Regions from separate parts of the Homo sapiens genome. Here region 1 is linked to region 2. Evidence: promoter capture Hi-C in 16 types of primary human blood cells and fetal thymus (Javierre and others, 2016). All regions are on one chromosome and are shown on one strand. Each heading gives the region's core, a stretch centred on a gene start or on the middle of the fragment in contact. The rest is flanking DNA. Distances are from core to core; before and after follow the strand shown. Region 1 holds the start of ABCF3 (ATP binding cassette subfamily F member 3). Region 2 holds the start of THPO (thrombopoietin).

Region 1 (4,313 bases), core at 341-2,840, 190 kb after region 2:
CTTCTGAGCCATGCTTCCCCCACTCACAGAGGGTTGCTGGTCTTGAGCGTGTCCTTCTCTGAGCGCTTCTCCTGCTTTGCCTTAAGTCGAGCCTCGGCCTTCTCTAACTTCTTTGCATTCACTGTCTAAGGGTCCAAACACATCGACTTCACTCTCGGGTGTAGGCTCAGAAAGGAACCCCAAGAGAGAACATCTCGAGTAAACCCTCTTAACTTACCCATGATGAACAGACTCAAAGGCTCAGGAAAAGACATAGTCAGAAATCCCCCCAAAAGATACTCCAATTAGACAGTCAACTCCCAACCCCATCACAGACAGTCCCCTCCCTTGCTTCCTCCTCCTCACCGAGGACTGTTCCCTCTTTAGCAGTCCTGGAAGTTTGGTTCCACAGTCTGTAAGCGATAAGAAAAGCAGTCACCTTCTCCCTGAGGGAAGGGAAACTAACATTTTGAGTGACTAATAGGAACCAGGCACAGACACAGATGTTTTCTACAAAACCTTATAATACTGCAGATAGATGGCTATTATCTTCCCTGCACTAAAAACAAAACAAAACAAAACAAAACAAAACTCACGTAGAAGGATACAGAGGCATAGACAAGGCTGGGGACAGATAACCAACTCTTACAAGATCATGCAGCTGGTTAGCAAGTTGCAAAACTGGGGGTGAAAGCAAGTCTGTCCAGCTCCAGGCTCTTATGCTTCCTATCCTACCCAAGAGCTTGGAGGGAGAACCCTCCAACCTCCTCCCCACCCCCATCATGGGCTCTTCTGCCCTCGGTAAAGACATCAACTAGCTCCTACAACCTTGTCCTGTGGAAAAGACGTAGGAGCCCTAAGCTGCAGGCAGCAGATGGTTGGGGGCGGAGAAAAGCACAGGGGGGCAGTTAGTTCAACCTCCCCTCACTCTCACCGTAGTTCTCCGTTATCTTTGACAACTGGATAGGGGCGTCCAGTAGCACCTGGCTATTTCCCTGGCTTTGTGGCTCAGCCCTATGTGGGTAGGGATAGAAAGCGCAGAGTTAGGAGTTGAGGGAAAAGCTCTATGGCCATCAGATCTTCCTCCCCCACCTCTTGTCTCCGGACCGTTCGCCGTCCCTTCGCCCCCATCAACCCCTACTCCCTGGCACATACAGACGCAGAGTGTTGTACATGCGCTGGCACACGGCCCTGATGCCCGCGTCATCCTTGCTGTCCCCGGACACCTCTTGCAATAGTTCCCCTACAGCTTCCACCAGGTCATCCACAGACTCGAAGTCCGCGCTGCCGCTGTGCAAGACGCCTGGGCAGGGCGTGGTAGAACGAGGAAGGTATCGGGTAGGGTGGACACACAAGCAGTTTCAGACCCCAGACAGAGGCCCCAGTCCAGGCTCCAGACCCAACCAGCCCCCGGGACAAGAGGTCATGCAGAGGAGAGGCCTGGCAACAGTCCCGGGCACGACGCTCGCTTAGACTTTCCCCCGGCCTCCACTTCGGTCTCCCCAGCCGGCCGATTCAGTTCTGCTTACCGGTCACGTAGTCGAAGACTTGTCCGTCAATTTCGGGGAACTCGCTCCGCAGGATTTCGGCGCAAGTCGCCATGTTCCACTCAGGAACCCGTCCGCGCAGTCGCTGTGAGACCCCGGCCTAGGCCCGCCCCCCGCCCTGCCCCCGAAATCTCGCCCTTCCTTGCAAGGCGCATGTGTAGCGGTGACGCAGGAAAGGAGCGGAGTGCGCAGAGCCCGGTGGGCGGGGCGAGCGGGGCCTTGAGGAGAGGCGCCGAGTCTGCGCCGGAGCCGCGCTCTCTGCGCGTGCGCGACACCTTTTCCGCTGAAAGATTAGCCACATGTGCGGTTCTCGCTGCCTTCTGGGAGGTGGAGTTCCGGGAGCGAGGGGTGGGGCAAAGGCTGGGAGCTCAAGGTTTATCGGGGCCGCGAGGCACCCGTGGTCTGGCGGGTGGGAGCCTCCCAAGAGGCAGGCGGCTGATAAAGCACTTTGGCTTTGCCAGGTTTTATGCGCTCCCTCGAGGCGCGTCTGCTGCTGGTGCGTACCCAGTCAGGCCCATTTTGGAGCCTGCCCAGAGCTTTGCTGACTCACCCCGGTCCCTGACTCTCAGAAGCCCCCTGCTCAGTGCTTTGCTTTCGCGGGTCCCCAGACCCTACGGGCTTCTCAGCCTGGTGGCCAGCGCCACCCGCCTCCCCGCCGCGACCGCCTTTTCACTGTGTAATTCAGCCGACCTTTGTGAATTAAGCCCATTCAGTTCTTCCACCACCCCAGGGCACGACCAAATCCACCGCCAAAGGGCAAGAAAACCAGGACAACGTGGCCTGTATAAATTATTCCCTACCTACACCCTGAGCAGACTTCTCTGCACTCAATAAATGCCAATAAAAGGCTATTTCCTTTCACCGATTCCCTCGGGAAGTTAGGAATTTCCTCCAAAATGATGCTACTGCTTTATATTTAACGTGAATATTCCTCCAATTGGTCTCTAAAAGTGGCACCGAAAATTACATTATTACCCATTCATCCCTTTGGATTAAACATTGCCATCATGAGGCATCAATCCCGATATTGAACCATTTTACAGGAAATACAGGTAAAGAGGAATATGTTAAGTGACTTCATGGGGACAACAGGCAAATTCTGATGTGGTAAACTACAGAACTCTGGTTTCTTCCACAAAATTGCAAGACCTGAAGGGAAACATCAATTTTTAAAATTTGAGGAGCATTAACCAACCACAATGGACCTTATCTGGAAAAATTTGATAAGACACCTGGTTAAGTGAACACAAACTGGATGTGATATTAAGGAACTGGCCACGCATTGATCATAGTTGAAGCTGGGTGATGAGACATGGAGATTCATTATATTCTTTTTTTTTTTTTTTTTAATTTGAGAAGGAGTTTCGCTCTTGTTGCCCAGGCTGGAGTACAGTGGCGTGATCTTGGCTCACCGCAGCCTCCACCTCCTGGGTTCGAGCGATTCTCCTGCCTCAGCCCCCGAATAGCTGGGATTACCGGCATGCACCACCACGCCCGGCTAATTTTGTAATTTTAGTAGAGACGAGGTTTCCCCATGTTGGTCAGGCTGGTCTCGAATTCCGGACCTCGGGTGATCCACCCGTCTCGGCCTCCCAGAGTGCTGGGATTACAGTGTGAGCCACCGCGCCCAGTCCATTATGTTATTCTCCTTGCAAATCTTTCCTCCTACCACCCAGTCAGCAAGATTTGGGAAGCTTGGGTAAATGATGGAATTAAAAGGTCAATTTCTTAGGATGGCTACAAGACCAAATGTAAACTTCACACTTAATTTATGCTTAATCTAATTAGAAAACATCTGCCTAAGAATTAGAGAAAGAGCTGGGTGCTGTGGTGGTGCGTGCTTGTGATCCCAGCTACTCCAGAGGCTGGGGCAGGTAAGATCTCTTGAGCCTAGGAGTCCGAGGACCAGGGGGAATAAAAAGGAGCTAGGGAAAGAATCTATCCCCAGGGTACTGGGGCCCGCTGCGGCTGCATGCCCTTGAGGCTTTCTAAGAGGAGCCAGGAAACCTGGGCCCAGAACCCACAAGGATAAGGGCTTGGATGGCCCAGGAGGGGCCTAACTGGGACAAGACAAGGAAAGAGCCTTTAGAGTATTCAGTACAGAAAACTGCACGGAGAGCAACACCAGTTCCCTCCCCATGTAGCTCCCACATCAACACTAAGCCAGCAACTCCACTCTACAGAGTTTATTGGGTTTGTAACTGGACGAAGTCACACGTGTACAAAATGAAGCTCACACTATCCCAAAGCAGAGTAGGGACTGAGGCCGGGGATCCATTACTGGCCTTTGGGGGAGCTCTGAGGTGAGGGGCAACCAACCCTCCCACTCCAGAGCTGTGGCCACAGGGGTGGGAAGGAAAGGGAACCCACCTGGCTTTGGTCACAGAACTCAGAGCCTGGCATTAGGCCAGGACAGACAGGTGGATGGGAGAGCAGGAGCCTCAGAACTCCCCTGCCCAGGGAGCCCAGGGGCTGCTCCACCGGTCCCACTTGTAATGTGCTTGGCCCAGACCTAGACTCGGGCTGGTGCAAAGGGAAGGCAGCAAAGCAGGAGGGAGGAGACACTGATGTGTGGTGGGGGAGGGAGCGGCACCTGGACCTGTGGAGGAGGGTGGCTGGGGAGGTGGGCTAGCTGCCTAGTGGCAGCTAGCAGCGAGTTTCATAAATGCCACTGCGGCCAATGTAGCGCACCCATTTGATGACATCATGGTCGCTGTAGTTCAGCTTCGGTTCAAACACCTTCAAGTAGCGCACCTTGAGGCCAGAGGGCGCGAATGGCACCTGGGC
Region 2 (3,912 bases), core at 43-2,542:
CTCTGAGGTCGCTCCTCATTCTTGTGTTACCCAGGACAGGGACCTAGCCAGAAACCGGCAGCATTCCCCCTTCTGTGGAGTGACAGTATCTCCCTCTCATTGTAACTTATCCTCAGGCGCATTCGACAGTCCCCTCTTGCTTTCTCACCCCCTTCCTTCACCCAAGGGACCCTCTGCCTCTCCAGCCCACTCCCAGCCTCCTTTCTCTTGGTTCCCTGGTCATGCCTGCCTCCCTGTCTCCTGTCTCTCCCTCCCACACACACCCACTATCCTCCCAGCTATCCCAGCACCCTCCTTCCTAATCTTGGGAGACATCTCGTCTGGCTGGACGGGAAAATTCCAGGATCTAGGCCACACTTCTCAGCAGACATGCCCATCCTTGGGGAGGAGGAACAGGAGAGAGCCTGAGGAAGTTCTGGGGGACAGGGGGATGATGGGATCAAGGTCAGGCCAGGAAGCCCCTGAGGACAGAGACTGTGGGGAGACTGGGACTGGGAAGAAAGCAAAGGAGCTAGAGCCAGGGCCAAAGGAAAAGGGGGGCCAGCAGGGAGGTATTTGCGGGGGAGGTCCAGCAGCTGTCTTTCCTAAGACAGGGACACATGGGCCTGGTTATTCCTCTTGTCACATGTGGAACGGTAGGAGATGGAAGACGGAGACAGAACAAGCAAAGGAGGGCCCTGGGCACAGAGGTCTGTGTGTGTAGCCATCTAAGCCACTGGACCCCAGCAGACGAGCACCTAAGCTCAGGCTTAACCCAGTGCACGTGTGCGCACATACATGTGCCCCGCACCTGACAGTCCACTCAACCCGTCCAAACCCTTTCCCCATAACACCAACCCATAACAGGAGATTTCTCTCATGTGGGCAATATCCGTGTTCCCACTTCGAAAGGGGGAATGACAAGATAGGACTCCCTAGGGGATTACAGAAAGAAAAGCAGGAAAGCAAGCATCCTGTTGGATTTCAGCAGCAGGTATGATGTCCAGGGAAAAGAAATTTGGATAGCCAGGGAGTGAAAACCCCACCAATCTTAAACAAGACCTCTGTGCTTCTTCCCCAGCAACACAAATGTCCTGCCAGATTCCTCCTGGAAAAAAACTTCTGCTCCTGTCCCCCTCCAGGTCCCAGGTTGCCCATGTCCAGGAAAAGATGGATCCCCCTATCCAAATCTTCTCCGTGGTGTGTGTGGGTGGAGGAGTGGACCCTGGTCCAGGCAGGGGCTCCAGGGAAGAGAAGGCGTCACTTCCGGGGGCCTTCACCAGTGTCTGGTGGCTCCCTTCTCTGATTGGGCAGAAGTGGCCCAGGCAGGCGTATGACCTGCTGCTGTGGAGGGGCTGTGCCCCACCGCCACATGTCTTCCTACCCATCTGCTCCCCAGAGGGCTGCCTGCTGTGCACTTGGGTCCTGGAGCCCTTCTCCACCCGGTGAGTGGCCAGCAGGGTGTGGGGTTATGTGAGGGTAGAAAGGACAGCAAAGAGAAATGGGCTCCCAGCTGGGGGAGGGGCAGGCAAACTGGAACCTACAGGCACTGACCTTTGTCGAGAAGAGTGTAGCCTTCCCAGAATGGGAGGAGCAGGGCAGAGCAGGGGTAGGGGGTGGGGTGCTGGTTTCTGAGGGACTGATCACTTACTTGGTGGAATACAGCACAGCCCTGGCTGGCCCTAAGGAAAGGGGACATGAGCCCAGGGAGAAAATAAGAGAGGGAGCTGCACTTAGGGCTTAGCAAACACAGTAGTAAGATGGACACAGCCCCAATCCCCATTCTTAGCTGGTCATTCCTCGTTAGCTTAAGGTTCTGAATCTGGTGCTGGGGAAGCTGGGCCAGGCAAGCCAGGGCGCAAGGAGAGGGTAATGGGAGGAGGGCCCACTCATGTTGACAGACCTACAGGAAATCCCAATATTGAATCAGGTGCAAGCCTCTTTGCACAACTTGTGAAAGGAGGAGGAAGCCATGTGGGGGGTCCTGTGAAGGAACCGGAAGGGGTTCTGCCAAGGGGGCAGGGAGGCAGGTGTGAGCTATGAGACAGATATGTTAGTGGGCGCCTAAGACAAGGTAAGCCCCTAAGGTGGGCATCACCCAGCAGGTGCCCGTTCCTGGGCAGCTGGTCTCAGGAAGGAAGTCCCAGAACTGTTAGCCCATCTCTTGGCCTCAGATAATGGAGTATTTCAGGACTTGGAGTCCAGAGAAAAGCTCCAGTGGCTTTATGTGTGGGGGTAGATAGGGAAAGAATAGAGGTTAATTTCTCCCATACCGCCTTTTAATCCTGACCTCTAGTGGTCCCAGTTACAGCTTTGTGCAGTTCCCCTCCCCAGCCCCACTCCCCACCGCAGAAGTTACCCCTCAACATATTGCGCCCGTTTGCCAGTTCCTCACCCAGGCCCTGCATCCCATTTTCCACTCTCTTCTCCAGGCTGAAGCCACAATACTTTCCTTCTCTATCCCCATCCCAGATTTTCTCTGACCTAACAACCAAGGTTGCTCAGAATTTAAGGCTAATTAAGATATGTGTGTATACATATCATGTCCTGCTGCTCTCAGCAGGGGTAGGTGGCACCAAATCCATGTCCGATTCACTGAGGAGTCCTGACAAAAAGGAGACACCATATGCTTTCTTGCTTTCTTTCTTTCTTTCTTTCTTTCTTTTTTTTTTTTGAGACGGAGTTTCACTCTTATTGCCCAGGCTGGAGTGCAATGGTGCGATCTCGGCTCACCACAACCTCCGCCTCCCAGGTACAAGCGATTCTCCTGTCTCAGCCTCCCAAGTAGCTTGGATTACAGGCATGAACCACCACACCCTGCTAGTTTTTTTGTATTTCGTAGAGCCGGGGTTTCACCATGTTAGTGAGGCTGGTGGCGAACTCCTGACCTCAGGTGATCCACCCGCCTTGGACTCCCAAAGTGCTGGGATTACAGGCATGAGCCACTGCACCCGGCACACCATATGCTTTCATCACAAGAAAATGTGAGAGAATTCAGGGCTTTGGCAGTTCCAGGCTGGTCAGCATCTCAAGCCCTCCCCAGCATCTGTTCACCCTGCCAGGCAGTCTCTTCCTAGAAACTTGGTTAAATGTTCACTCTTCTTGCTACTTTCAGGATAGATTCTTCACCCTTGGCCCGCCTTTGCCCCACCCTACTCTGCCCAGAAGTGCAAGAGCCTAAGCCGCCTCCATGGCCCCAGGAAGGATTCAGGGGAGAGGCCCCAAACAGGGAGCCACGCCAGCCAGACACCCCGGCCAGAATGGAGCTGACTGGTGAGAACACACCTGAGGGGCTAGGGCCATATGGAAACATGACAGAAGGGGAGAGAGAAAGGAGACACGCTGCAGGGGGCAGGAAGCTGGGGGAACCCATTCTCCCAAAAATAAGGGGTCTGAGGGGTGGATTCCCTGGGTTTCAGGTCTGGGTCCTGAATGGGAATTCCTGGAATACCAGCTGACAATGATTTCCTCCTCATCTTTCAACCTCACCTCTCCTCATCTAAGAATTGCTCCTCGTGGTCATGCTTCTCCTAACTGCAAGGCTAACGCTGTCCAGCCCGGCTCCTCCTGCTTGTGACCTCCGAGTCCTCAGTAAACTGCTTCGTGACTCCCATGTCCTTCACAGCAGACTGGTGAGAACTCCCAACATTATCCCCTTTATCCGCGTAACTGGTAAGACACCCATACTCCCAGGAAGACACCATCACTTCCTCTAACTCCTTGACCCAATGACTATTCTTCCCATATTGTCCCCACCTACTGATCACACTCTCTGACAAGGATTATTCTTCACAATACAGCCCGCATTTAAAAGCTCTCGTCTAGAGATAGTACTCATGGAGGACTAGCCTGCTTATTAGGCTACCATAGCTCTCTCTATTTCAGCTCCCTTCTCCCCCCACCAATCTTTTTCAACAGAGCCAGTGCCCAGAG

What was found. The method cuts DNA at HindIII sites, captures the fragments that hold promoters and counts their contacts. A CHiCAGO score of 5 or more calls a contact.
Region 1: a contact is called between the fragment with the promoter of ABCF3 here and the fragment with the promoter of THPO in region 2, in 7 of 17 cell types (naive CD8 T cells, non-activated CD4 T cells, total B cells and 4 more). The highest score is 10.3, in naive CD8 T cells.

Annotation. Positions count from the first base shown.
Region 1 is chr3:184,183,476-184,187,788 of GRCh38, reverse strand. It overlaps ABCF3 (ATP binding cassette subfamily F member 3), which reads right to left and starts at 1,590. Exons shown (of 21, transcript NM_018358.3): 1 at 1,509-1,590; 2 at 1,135-1,282; 3 at 914-993; 4 at 346-392; 5 at 28-125. The coding sequence starts at 1,581. AP2M1 (adaptor related protein complex 2 subunit mu 1) reads right to left here. Exons shown (of 12, transcript NM_004068.4): 12 at 3,698-4,307. The coding sequence ends at 4,173. RefSeq lists enhancers at 1,286-1,605, 2,083-2,797, 4,091-4,313. The HindIII fragment of the contact is 6,180 bases long and covers 1-3,222 here.
Region 2 is chr3:184,375,587-184,379,498 of GRCh38, reverse strand. THPO (thrombopoietin) reads left to right here and starts at 1,292. Exons shown (of 6, transcript NM_000460.4): 1 at 1,292-1,424; 2 at 3,095-3,252; 3 at 3,484-3,611; 4 at 3,898-3,912. The coding sequence starts at 3,240. The HindIII fragment of the contact is 10,240 bases long and covers 1-3,912 here.